Regions from separate parts of the Homo sapiens genome. Here region 1 is linked to region 2. Evidence: promoter capture Hi-C in 16 types of primary human blood cells and fetal thymus (Javierre and others, 2016). All regions are on one chromosome and are shown on one strand. Each heading gives the region's core, a stretch centred on a gene start or on the middle of the fragment in contact. The rest is flanking DNA. Distances are from core to core; before and after follow the strand shown. Region 1 has its middle 270 kb from the start of OTUD1. Region 2 holds the start of PTF1A (pancreas associated transcription factor 1a).

Region 1 (6,759 bases), core at 4,156-6,655, 520 kb after region 2:
ACAGAGTAGCCTTATTGATAAGCAATTTACAAAGCATTTTGTTCTATGCTGATACAAAGTTGAAACATAGTGGGTGTTCTATTTGGTGTCAAGTGTTGAAAGTATTTTTGGAAAATTCATTATATTTTGGAGACAGTTCAAGTTGTGTTGAACTTTTACTCAAATAAAGATTTATATAGCTGTGCCTTGATTTTGAAAAATTTGTTTTATCAAAATCTGAATTGCAGAATAGATACATCAGAAACAAATGCCATTACAAAATAATCTCCAGGTAGCTCATCAAATACCTATGGAATGGGTACAATGAGTATAGGGAACCGGGTCACCATCTATCCTTCTTATTCTCTAGGGTCTGATCAATAAAGCAAACCAATGAAGCAAGATTGCTAGCCAGATAGAAAATGAAAAGAGTGATTTTGCTTTGTAGAGTCCTCTGTGCACATCCTTGTAAAATCTATATTAAAATATTTGCTTTAGGCTTCATCAAAAGTGAGACTATTGACTCTTACTCTTTATCTAGATGTGAGCACCACAAGCTCAGATGTGCATACAGAAGGAGTGAGGCACCAGATCTTCTGGGCCATCCCCAATACCGTGTGCTTGAATATGGATGAGGCTGGCAGGTTGGTTCCAGAAAGAAGACATTATAGGTGGAATGATGTTCCCTTAACCCCAGAAGATGTCCACATTCTAATTCCTAAAAGCTGTGGCTATTTTACCTCCGAAAGCAAAAGAGACTTTGCAGATGGGATTCTATTAAGAATCTTGAGATGGGGTTGATCAATGCCTTTGATTATCTAGGTGAGCCAATATAATCACAAGGGTCCTTACAAGAGGGAGGCAAGAGGGTCACAGAAGATGTGATGATGTAAGCAGAGGTCAAAGTGATCCACAGGCCAAGGAATTTGAGCAGCCTCCAGGAGACAGAACAGGCAAGAAACTAGAGTCTCTTGGCAGACAGCGTGGTTTTGGTCCATTGAGATTTCTGACCTATAGAACTCTAATGTAGTAAATTTGTGTTCTTTTGAGCTAGTAAGTGTGTGATTTCTTACAGCAGCAATAGGAAATTACTGTAGAAGGTTTGGGGACCTGCACAGATGTGCTTATTACAAGGGAACAAGATACAAAGGAGAACCTTCTGGGTGTCATCACAGAAAGTGAAGGACAAAGTAACCCTGTTCACCAGGAAAGCATGGTCCAGTTCATGTCAAGCTTCAACAGATGAAATCAACCACCTTCCTCTCCTGGGGAAGACGAGTGAGAGAAACAGAAGCTAATTAAGGTGTCTTAGTGGAGAGAAGTTTAACTCCAGGAATTAGAGGCTCACACAACCCTTGAAGGATGGGAAACGAAGCCTGATATGATCACTTTCAGGAAATCTAAAATGTGGGAATCGCAGAGAAACATGCTCCCTAAGTGAGTCACAGGAGGATGCCAAAGTCTATAGTCCAGACTCCACTTCTGTTGCCTGTCTGCAGACATTGTCAGAGAATGACCTTCACCTTCCAAATCTCATGTGAGACATTCTCAATGGTGGACTCTTCTAGTGACCCCACAGGCAAGGAAGAAATGTAGTTTCTAGGCTTCACCCCTCTAAAAGTCAAGGGCCAAACTGTACAGGGTATCAAAATACCTGGCACAGAGGTGAAGAGAAAATTATGGTAGAAGTTTGCTTCTCTGCAGTTTGAGGGTGGAAGGTAGAAAGAGGAACATAAGCATCTCTCCTTACATCCCTAGCCCTATGCTCCCCTCACCTGCATTCCCCTCACCAATAACTTAGAGTTTGCCAAGACTGGGAGATGGTCTTAGAAATGGAGAAATAACTCAGTATGATAGTCAGCAGCAAGCCAAGATGTTCATTGACTTGGCTACCATTATAAGCCAAGTCAATGAACATCTTGGCAAACTCTGAGTTATTGCAGAGCAGTGCAGTCAACTCAGTACAGAAAAGATAGGAGACAGATGGGAAATTGAATATTCGTGGATACGTTTTAGGTGATTGTGCTGTAATTTAACTATAACTTACCAGGTATCTATTTTGAACCTGCTTTATTTCAAGGGCACTTTTTTTTAAGCTTTTGACAAATAATTTAAGCCAAATTAATATTCATTGCAAATGTCAGGAGCAGTTGAGTTTTCTTTTCATAGAGCCTTTGAACCTGTTTATGGGAAAGATCAAGTGTTATCATGCCATTAGTTCTACTTTTTAATACAGGATAAAGTTGTACATGTCACTGTTATCTAATTACTAATAGCTATAAATACCAGTTAATTAAATAATGCAGGAATAGAATAAATTTACTATGCCGTGTTTCTTATTGCTCTCAATCAAGTATTTTTAGAAGATTTTCATATTACCTCTTTTCAGTTTTAATTGCCTCTTAAGAAGACAGAATTGCTTCTGGTATACCTGAAGCAGCCAAGGGGGTGGAGTTGTTAACATGTAATGCGGCTTGCAGGCATTTGGTTCAGTGTGGAGTCTCAGAGGGTGAAAGTGTAGAATGCCAGATCAAGGTTTCAAGCCATGAACTAAGAGTATGGAAAAGAGCTGGGGAGGAGTATGTTGTAGATGAATTGAGGTATTAGAAAATAGGAGTGCAGGTTGCAGATTACTAGGAAGCCACTGAATAGAACTGTTTGAAGCTATCGTACCTGCTCAGTAGCCAGGATGACTTTTTCAGGCCCATTCAGAGTAGGTTTTGGTTTGGTAACACTGTTTTTGCTTGACTTTTTGCTGCTAACTATCATACTGAGTTATTTCTCCATTTCTAAGACCGTAAGGCCAATATCAAGAGCTATTGCTTTCAGCTCCTAGTTACTAATCATTTCAGTTTTATCATCAGAGATTTTGTTTTTTTACTTCCAATGGATTAGTTCAGTTTCTACCTAGGCAGACTATCATGGACCAAAATGTTCTTCTCTAAAAATGCATGTTAGAAAATATTATCATGGTCCTTTTGGTGTTTAACAGCTTCTTTGGAATAATAATTTAAATTGTGTTGACCACTCTACACATCATATTTTCAGTTAATATAGAAGTTATGCTCTAAAATAGTCAGTTTCTAAGGTTTGGTTTAATTTCTTTGTGTCTTAGGAGCCTATGTTGATTTGAATGGTGATATTAATATCATTATTAGCTATCCTTACATAAGACCACCCAATAAAACTTTTTGGTATCTGTAATAAAGTTTGACTTTAATTTTTGCCAAAATATGTGATGTAATTCTGGAGTTGAAGACATCCTAAAAAAGAGTCAACTTAGATTACTGTATGCCCCAGCAAAATAATGCCTCATGATCACCTATTTCCACCTCTAGACAATTTCATTTATAACCTTGACTTCAAACCTAATTCACATCTGCTTAGCTCAGAACTTTCTTCTGAATTCAAACTTGCTTATACACTTTTCATTTTAGGTACCCCATCCAGCTGTTTCATAGGCACCTCACCTTTAATATGTGCAAATCTGAAATTATTAGTCTTTTTTCATTCCACCAGAACTTCTCTGCCTTCTATATTTCCTGGCAAAGGGATTGATGCCAGCTAGTCGTCCAAGTTCAGGATCTGAACATATCCTAGACTTCTACCTTTTCTCCATATCCAATCAGTTGCTAAGACCAACCTTCTAAATACATATTTCCCCTTCCCCGCTATCCTGTTTGTTATTATATTGCTGAAGCGTTCATGATGTTTCAGCTGGAACTATTGCAATAACTTGCTTACTAACCATTGTCTTAGGGCAGCTTCCACAGAAATCAAACCCTAAGAGGAATTTTTGTGCACAAGTAATTTATGAAGAAATTGCTCCCAGGATAGACTCCTGGAAAGTGAGGGAAAGTAGAACAGGGGAGGAAGAGAAGCCAAGCAAGGATGAGAACTTGGGCAAATTTCTGCAGAGGGTAGCTTCCATCATATCCTGCAGCCAGGGCGACACTAAGACTTTGGTAGAGTCCTTCCTCAATCAATCAATTGCAACTTGGACTTTCCTGAATACGCTATGCTGCCTCAAGATTCCTGCCTTTTCACCTGCTGGTCCACTGGCCTGAAATATTCTTCTTCTTTGGTTCCCTCCTCACTTGACCTCTGGACTAAAGATGACTACAAAGTTTTTTTCCTGCTCTCCCTTTGTGACTGTTCCAAGAAGTCTTGAGGTCGTTTTTCTATTCTGTTTTGTGAAAAGGCCATATTTGCGAAGGGAACCCCAAATACAAAAGGAGCTGAGAAACCAAAGGGTAGGGCAAACAAATCCAGTTTGTCAATAGAGGGTGGTTTATTGGGGAACTCATGGGCAGAAGCATGGTCTTGGGCAGTCATAAGACAGGTAGATCTCCTCACCATTACCCCAAGACCCAGAGCTTATATACCATAGAAAAAGGGTATATGTGCTTTAGCTCTAGAGGGAATGTGCAGGACAATTAAAGTTGACCCTTCATGGAAAGACAAGAACGCTATGTGCATCATAGCCTATAATTTGCCAAAGGGCAGGATATATGGTAAGTATGTGTTTATGATGATAACATCGAGATTGTACTGGTTTACAAAAGGAACAGTAAATAAGGCAGAAATATTAGAGGCACTCCTGGGATTGGGGTTAATCTGAAGTCAAAATGGCGGATTAGCATTCAAGATGGAGTTACTTTAGCCTCCTCTTACTCCATGGTGAGCTTCTCCTGGGCTGCCATAGCTCTGTGTATTGACTTGGTTATTTTATTTCATTGCAACTGTTATTTGCATGATTACCTTTCCCTAGTGGGGGATGGAAGAGACAAAATCTTTTCATTTTTATCCCTTTGGTGTTTAGCCCAACACTTGTTAAGCCAATGAAGGAAGTAAAGAAGTGAAAAAAATTGATGAAAGGACTGTGATTCCAGTTATGCGTATTAGATCATAAATAGTTTCTGAGGAGCTTGAGATTCCATTAGAATATGTGATGTAAGTAAAACTTATTTTGGCTTATTACCTTTTTACTATTGAGTATGATGAGACCTCATGGTAAAAGTTGTATCAATTTTAGAGTCTCTTTGATGTAGCTATAAGATTTTACATTTCTTTTATGACTCACCATGTAAAGTTTCAAATATGTACTAGAGAGATTTAAAATGAGCATGAAGTGATGACTAACATGTAAATTTGAGAATTTCAGTGTTAAAATGATAGATTTGTTTTCTCATCTACAAATATTATATTTTTAAATATTAGGTAGAACTGATTCTAAAGGAAGTAATCACATTACCCATATTTTAAAAATTAAACTTGCCCGTGAAAGAAAAGCAAAGCTTACATGACACTTTAACTTTTACAACATTTTATTTAAAAGATAAATGTCATTACTCAGTTCACTAAAATGACCTTTAAAAGCCATGATCTTTAAAAAAGAAATAGTTTTCTTTTAAAGGGAAACACATTGCACCAATTTGCAAGTTAATGGTCGAATTTTTGCCTTAACAGTGATGAGAAAGCAGAAATTGAGGCACAAATGATACAAATAGCATGTTTCAGTCTTGAAAGGCAATATTATTCCTTTTATTCCTTAAATAAGCTTTTACGGAAGCGTTCTGACTAACGCTGCATGCAAGAGATTTACGTACATACTTCCATGAGATGAGGATGTGTCATTAAAATATATGAACATAATAGATGTTGTGCACACAATATGAAACAAAACTATGCTTAGGGCATCTGGAAAGTTTCTCTTTATGAAATAAATGAACAATAGCTTTATTTAAATCTATCTAAAACCAAGCTCTGATTTACATATAGGGCTTAATTTGGATCATTGAATTTCCTTTGCATTGGTTTCTTATGCATACATTTTGTAGTAATTTTAAATATGTAAACTCATCAGCATAGTTTGTGTGTGTATCTGTATTCTAGGGGATCCTTTAGGCTAAATAAATGCAATATGTGAAAGTTTTAAATCACCAATTATTAATTAAGACATAAATTTCCTATATACAGTCATACCTACCTGCATTTACAGTGTGAACCTGCTTTGTCTTTCCTTGAATAAAATTAAAGTGATTGGATCTTTCCAAGTATCATATTTACAACCAACTTCTCCCTCTGGAGGCTCCCTCCCTTCCCCACCTCCAGCCTGGACTGAACACACAGAAGACTGGGTGTGATTTTATGATATAAATCAATGGAAAAGCTGGTCCACCTTACTAGGAGCAGCTTTTTAGATCAGCCTCTATTGTGCATATTCAAATATATTTATATGCATGTAACAACAAAAAAACATTCTTGTGGCTTTGTTTATTAAAGATTTCTTTCTGGACAAATAGATTTTGAATTATTGCTTTATAAAGTAGACCCCAATTTACTACATCACGTTTTTTCTTTGTCATCATCTATTGTTCTTTTGGATCCTAATTATTCATTTTTCTCATGTTTTAAACTTCTTATATACAAGGCTTATTTATACTTGTCACTCTCCCATGCCTGTCATAGTCTATATTTATATTTCACTTATTTTAAGAAAATGCACAGAAATCCATGTTAAACAACTAACCACACAAAAACTACATTCTCCTTCAAGATTAAACCCCTGCCTTACTTTGCCCCTTCTCTTCCCAGCCTGTCTTTTTGAAAGAGTTACCTGCTTTACTATCTTTACGTCTTCACCTTTTTGTCATCTCTAGGTTTCCGTGAACTTAAAATGCTTCCTGGTATTAAGAACTACTTGGTTGTCCCCTGTGCTTATGTATTTTTAAATGAAATAGGTTGAATTCCGCTTTTAGATTTTTTTTTTGCTCTGAA
Region 2 (6,436 bases), core at 468-2,967:
ACACACACCCCTTCCCTTCCTTTGAGGTCAGAAAGAGAAATCTAATTGCAGAGAATCACAGCTCAGGCTCTATCACCGGGAAACTGTCCATATTTGCCTTTAAGGATATGCAAATAGTGAACGACTCCTTCACTGTGAAGGCTGAGAAACTAACACAGGAAAAAACTACTGAAAACCAGTCAGTCCTTGGGTTAAAATTGTTTGGGGTTGTTGGCAGTTCAAGGTAAGGCAATCTCTGGCCTTCTAACCTTATATATCTTTTGGTTTAACTCTTTGTTCTCAATTCAGTTAATTACAGTGCAATGTCTAAAACCAAGAAGCGTATTTAAATCACTAATCTGAAGAGGCATGACTTGGAATTTGAGAGGCGTCTGAATACCCAACAGAAGCCTCTAGTGAGACAAGTGCCTGAAAAAGGAAGCGGCCCAGGAGGACGACTCCTTTCAGTCCTCTGTAGAGAGAATACGCACGATGGCTGCGCTTCTGAACTCTCCCGGGGTGGAAGCTGCAGCCTGGCTTTTAACCGGAATTGCCCAGACCTTGAAAGTGTTTCTTTGTTGCTCTTAAAAAGAGGAATTCACGTTGCATCGCAGTCTGTGATAAAGTCTGTCTTGGGGCAGAGCTGCATACGTTTTGTGTTTTTTTTTTTTTTCAGAAAAGAAAGGTCGAGAAAGAAAAAAACAAGTCATTCAGGGATGGTCCCTGTGGCCAGTCGGAAAGGTGAGAGACTCGGGCTTTGAAAACGATTCACATTCTGCCCTTTAACTTCAATGCCTTCCCTCCGGACTGCGCCGGAGCAGACGATTCAATGGACTCCTTTTGTATCCAGTTTATTGCTCAGAATCCCTAGGGTCTAGATTTGCTCTCAGAAGAAACGCGCCCCGCTGAGCTGCTCTGGGGGCTGCCCCTCCCGTCTCCCCATTCCTTTCTCCGGGCCGGGGAGGGCAGGGGAGGCAGCCACTGAGCCGATGTCGCTGGGGACCCGCACCAGGCACCACAGCCAGGCTCCAGAGCGGAGTCCCATAGGTGCGCTCCCAGCCCCCGTGTTGCGTCTGGAACGCAGTGGGAGTGGGCCCGGATCACCTTCCAATGACACCCGCATATACTCTGCAAACTGTGCAAAAGCCCTTGAAAAGTCCAGAGATGGGACAGAAGCCCCCAGCAGAACCCAGGCCGGAGCCCCGCGCACCTCGGATAAGGGGGTGGCGGAATGCACCCACCTGGTCCCTGAGGGCAGCACCCTTAGATTGCCCAGGCTGCCGCGGAGGAGGACGATCGCCGCGCGGGCTCCGCTCTCGCCGTCTGGGCCACCGGCGCGCACCCCTAGGAACTTCTCTGGCCGCGTGTAGACGCGGCGCGCGGCTGCCCCAGTCCCAGGGCGGAAGGAGCCGGCGCTGCTCAGCGCGCGCGGGTACGCAGCGGGCACCGCGGGACGCAGGTGCCCCTGGAGCCGCACGCGGGGCAGGTACAGAATCCAGTATGCAGAGGCAGAGGAGAGGGAAGAGAGCGGTGCGAGGAGCCCCGGGCCGCGCGACCCCGCCTTTTCCTCGCCCCAGGAGCTCCCAAAGGGAGCAAAACGCCCCCCACCCCCGCCCACCGCCGCGCCTCCGGGCCCCCTCGCCGCCGGCACACCGCGCTCTGATTGGCTGGCGCGATGGGTCCCTGGCACGCGCCTATGGATGTTGTTATAAGAATCCTCGCGTGCCGGCCCTCAGCTCCAGGAAGTCCGCCACAGCCCTCCCCAGCGCAGCGCGAGCGCGGGCCAGAGCGCAGCGGCCGCGGGCACTCCAGGGAGGCCCGGGGGCGGGCAGCCCGGCGGCCGCCTAGCTGCCCCCAGCCAGGGCCCCGGGAGGGAGGGGCTCGGACGGGCCTTAGAAACTCACCAAGAACTAACACGCGCAGCCCGGCAGTCCCGCTGCCCACTGCGGCGGCGAGCATGGACGCGGTGTTGCTGGAGCACTTCCCCGGGGGCCTAGACGCCTTTCCTTCTTCGTACTTCGACGAGGACGACTTCTTCACCGACCAGTCTTCACGGGACCCCCTGGAGGACGGCGATGAGCTGCTGGCGGACGAGCAGGCCGAGGTGGAGTTCCTTAGCCACCAGCTCCACGAGTACTGCTACCGCGACGGGGCGTGCCTGCTGCTGCAGCCCGCGCCCCCGGCCGCCCCGCTAGCGCTCGCCCCGCCGTCCTCGGGGGGCCTCGGTGAGCCAGACGACGGCGGCGGCGGCGGCTACTGCTGCGAGACGGGGGCGCCCCCAGGCGGCTTCCCCTACTCGCCCGGCTCGCCGCCCTCGTGCCTGGCCTACCCGTGCGCCGGGGCGGCAGTACTGTCTCCCGGGGCGCGGCTGCGCGGCCTGAGCGGAGCGGCGGCTGCGGCGGCGCGGCGCCGGCGGCGGGTGCGCTCCGAGGCGGAGCTGCAGCAGCTGCGGCAGGCGGCCAACGTGCGCGAGCGGCGGCGCATGCAGTCCATCAACGACGCCTTCGAGGGGCTGCGCTCGCACATCCCCACGCTGCCCTACGAGAAGCGCCTCTCCAAGGTGGACACGCTGCGCCTGGCCATCGGCTACATCAACTTCCTCAGCGAGCTCGTGCAGGCCGACCTGCCCTTGCGCGGCGGTGGCGCGGGCGGCTGCGGGGGGCCGGGCGGCGGCGGGCGCCTGGGCGGGGACAGCCCGGGCAGCCAGGCCCAGAAGGTCATCATCTGCCATCGGGGCACCCGTAAGTGCTTCCGCTTCCCAGCTCAGGGAGAAGGGGTCGGGCACTCGAAGGCTCCGGAGGGGCTGGGGGAGCTGACTGCCAAGCAGACAGTCGGACCGACGGATTGTCGGTGGGCACGGAAAAACTTGAATGCGAGCTCGCGTTTCTCGTTTTTTTTTTTTTTTTTATTTTTCTGCCACGTTGACCGCGGCTCTCAAGGGCGCGCGTCCCCGCCAGACTTGCAGCTCCTCGGATTCCTGGGAGGGGACGGTGGGGACTTGAAGTGTGGAGGAAGAGGGTGGTTCTAGTATAACCGGAGAGCACCCAGGAAAGGGTCCTAAAGGACCTGATGGGACCAATGGGAATGTGGTTGGATATTCACAGTCTGTTTTCTCTTCTCACCTGTCCAGGGTCCCCCTCCCCCAGCGACCCTGATTATGGCCTCCCTCCCCTAGCAGGACACTCTCTCTCATGGACTGATGAAAAACAACTCAAGGAACAAAATATTATCCGAACAGCCAAAGTCTGGACCCCAGAGGACCCCAGAAAACTCAACAGCAAATCTTCCTTCAACAACATAGAAAACGAACCACCATTTGAGTTTGTGTCCTGAGAAGTCCCAGACTCGGCTGAAGATCTGATTATGTCTCTGTGCATATTGTACATGTAAATATCTATAATGTAAATGTAATTTAAGAATCAAATTTTTCGAATGGCAATCAACTGTTTATTATTTATCTATTTATTATCCTGTTGAGTTGATGAAATAGATGATTTCTTTTTAAATATATAATTTATATAACTTATCCTGATTTTCTGAAAATATGCAATAGCCTATGATTTTCCTGAACTCTGTGTTGTTGGGAGAACTCTGGCCAGAAAACGTCCTGCTTATTTATTGCCAGATATGGTTTATTTCTAAGCGTTGTCAATAAATGCTATTTACACCTTTTCCTGAAGGTTTTTGAGTACATGATTTGATAGATACTCTTTAAAAAGAATTAACTTAGTAAAAATTAACCAAACCAGAGACTCAAAGTGTAGCTTTTTAGTAAGAAACTACATTTCAGACTTAGCCTAAAGGTGGGTAGGTTAGAGGATTAGACCTCAACTTTCTATGACAGCACTTCATCTAGGTCGCCTGCCCTACACAGCAACTTTTGTCTGTATTTTGGGCCACCTTCCAAACACCCTATGCAAATACATCCTGGAGTATTTATTGTTCCCATTTTGCAGATGGTAAAGTTAAGGCTCAGAGATGACATTTGACTTACCCAAGGTCACCCCTACGTTGTCTATTCCTGGTGTATAAAAGTGAGCGCGCGGTGCACTGTGGGAGCAGGGAGCTAGTGGGCTAAGCGAATGGGCCTTTCTGCTTCCACTGGCTGGGAAAGGGGCTACTCTTGAGCTGCCCTGTGACCAACCTCTTCGGCAGCAACAGCATCAGGTACCTGGAACTCAGGCTTACTCCTCACAAAGGAGATGGGACAGGCTACGGTGCCAAAGCCTAGAGACCACTCGGAGGCCACTCAACAAAATCCAGGGTCTTTTAGGTAAGGTAGGAAGAAGCCGCCCGCTACCCCTGCCACCTTCGCAACAGGCTTACTTCCAAAACTGAGTTCGTTTTGCCTTCATCAGAACTTGGCCCTCCTCGGCCAGCAACCTGGGGAGAAGGCGAGCCTGAGGCGGGGGGCGTAGGGTAGCCCCCTAGCGAAGGGGAGAAGAGCGAGGGCGCGGCCGAGGTCGCTTAGCCAGAAAGCCTGGGAGTCCAGGCTTGGGTTTGTCTCCTTTGTGGCCAAGAGCGCCTCCCGGGCTCTCGGGGCGTCCTCCCCTGCCCGCCAGAGCCGGGGCGCCGGCACTGGGCCCTGAGGCCTGGCGCGCGCGCAGATGGCGTTGGCGCGAGCGCGGACTGGAGACGCGCTCATTGACGTGGCACCGTAGCCCCGTGCGGCGCAGGCCTGGCCCAGGCGGGGTGTGGTTCCGTGGGCCGCAGCGGCCTGGTGGGCGAAGGTACAATTGCGGATAGCCTCTAATACTCACGGCCCTGCCGCAGGACAATATGTTGGCAGCATGCTAATTGCTTTAACCTAGTTTCAGACCCACCGAGGGGTTCCCCGCGCGCCGCGGGTGCCATGGACCTCGTCCAAGAGCAATTAAAGCGAGGCCGCGAGCCCGACCCCGCAGCGCGGCCTGGCCAGACACGCGGAGATTCTGGGTCGCAAGGCTCCCGGGAGCCCCTTGGCCGTGGACCCTCTCACCCCTTTTAAGCCTTCGCGCCCTCTCCCTCCACTCCTCCTAAAAGAAGATTTCACACTGGAGACAGAATTTCAGAACGAGAGAAAATAATTCGATTTTGTCCTTTATTAGGGCCTCATTAAACACGAAAGTTGCTTTTGCACAAATGCTTCCATCAGGCATGTAATCTCATTACACTCATTAGAAAGTCAAATGTTTGGCCGACTTCAACTTAATTATAAGTTATGGAAGTATTGTACCGTTTTCTTCGGCTGTGTAGACCTGCGTTTCTGTTGGATTGGGCAGTGTGGCACTCGCAGTTAAAACACTGCAATCATTGTGATGTGGCACCTTTTATTTTGCGTGCCACTTTTTTTTGCGATTCAATGCCTCAACACAACCTTTAGTGCGGTGCAGATGAAGCGGAAGAACCGAGCTGAGCATGCAAAACACCAGGGTCTCTATCTTGTCACTCTCTGTCCTGACTTGGCAAGTCCCTTTAAGCACAACCTTCAAAGAGACTGACAGCTTCTTTTTATTTACTCATAATCCATTCATTCTAGTGTAGCAATTCTTTTTTTTAAAAAAAATGCAGCAGTAAAGGCAGAACAAACGTATCATTTCAGAGTCTTCTTTGGCGTCAGGGAGGCCCGAGCTGCGCTGGGTGCAGGGGCTGCTCTCCTTGTGGCAGAGCCAGGCTGGGGAGCCTCTGGCCCTGGGCATCTCTGGCCGGCAAACACGGCCTGGCACTGGAAGGATCATGTGAGGGCAGTTTGAGTGACAGGTATTCAATGGTCCTTCTAAGTCCACACTTCTCGTCCAACTTTTAAAAAAGATGCATATGAAGATAATTGAGTAAGCCAAACTCCTGGATGGCTATGGAGAATCTTTGCCCAGCCCGGCCCTTCTGAACACCCATCATCCCCTGCACTGAAACCCAGCCTGGGACCACCAGGGGAAAGAGTTTAAAGTCTGCCCTGGCTGCCCTTGTCCATTTAGCATAATAAAGAAGCTGCAAGCCCAGTACAGGCTGAATTTTATGATCTCTATTGGAGAGCTGGTTAAATCATTCTCCACTGGTCCAGACTCCACTGCTAGCCATGGTCGGGGGAGGGAGCCCTGGAGTGGGCTTGATAAAGTCTTTGGAGAACAGAGGTGGCCTGGGGTGCTGCCTCTTCCTCTCCCCCAACATCTCACCCCCTCCTGCCAAACACACATCCTCAATTCTAGCCCATCTTGCTGGTCTCCATCCCAGGTTGCTGTATCTACCTTCATGGCAAAGTGCCAATGATTTCATTCAATAAAAGCCCCCTGTCCCCAGGCCTCCCTCCCTCTTCAATTTCTGGTGGGCTTTAGTGTTAGGGTCCTCTTGTGATTGTCTTAAAAGACATTGCATGTCAGAAGGAAGGTGGCTTTCTATTTTCAGAAGCTACAAAGCGGAGGCACCATTCCCATTCCTGTTCTCCCCTCCACCCCCTTCTAAAGAGAACTTTAGATTAGGA

Evidence for each region. The method cuts DNA at HindIII sites, captures the fragments that hold promoters and counts their contacts. A CHiCAGO score of 5 or more calls a contact.
Region 1: a contact is called between a fragment that was not itself captured here and the fragment with the promoter of PTF1A in region 2, in 1 of 17 cell types (M1 macrophages). The highest score is 7.4, in M1 macrophages.

Annotation. Positions count from the first base shown.
Region 1 is chr10:23,710,532-23,717,290 of GRCh38, forward strand. It overlaps a transcript of KIAA1217 not described here. Among named protein-coding and RNA genes, the nearest start is that of OTUD1, 270 kb to the left of the region's middle. The HindIII fragment of the contact is 263 bases long and covers 5,275-5,537 here.
Region 2 is chr10:23,190,595-23,197,030 of GRCh38, forward strand. It overlaps PTF1A (pancreas associated transcription factor 1a), which reads left to right and starts at 1,718. Exons shown (of 2, transcript NM_178161.3): 1 at 1,718-2,720; 2 at 3,110-3,651. The coding sequence starts at 1,937. The coding sequence ends at 3,312. RefSeq lists an enhancer at 4,607-5,362. The HindIII fragment of the contact is 14,718 bases long and covers 1-6,436 here.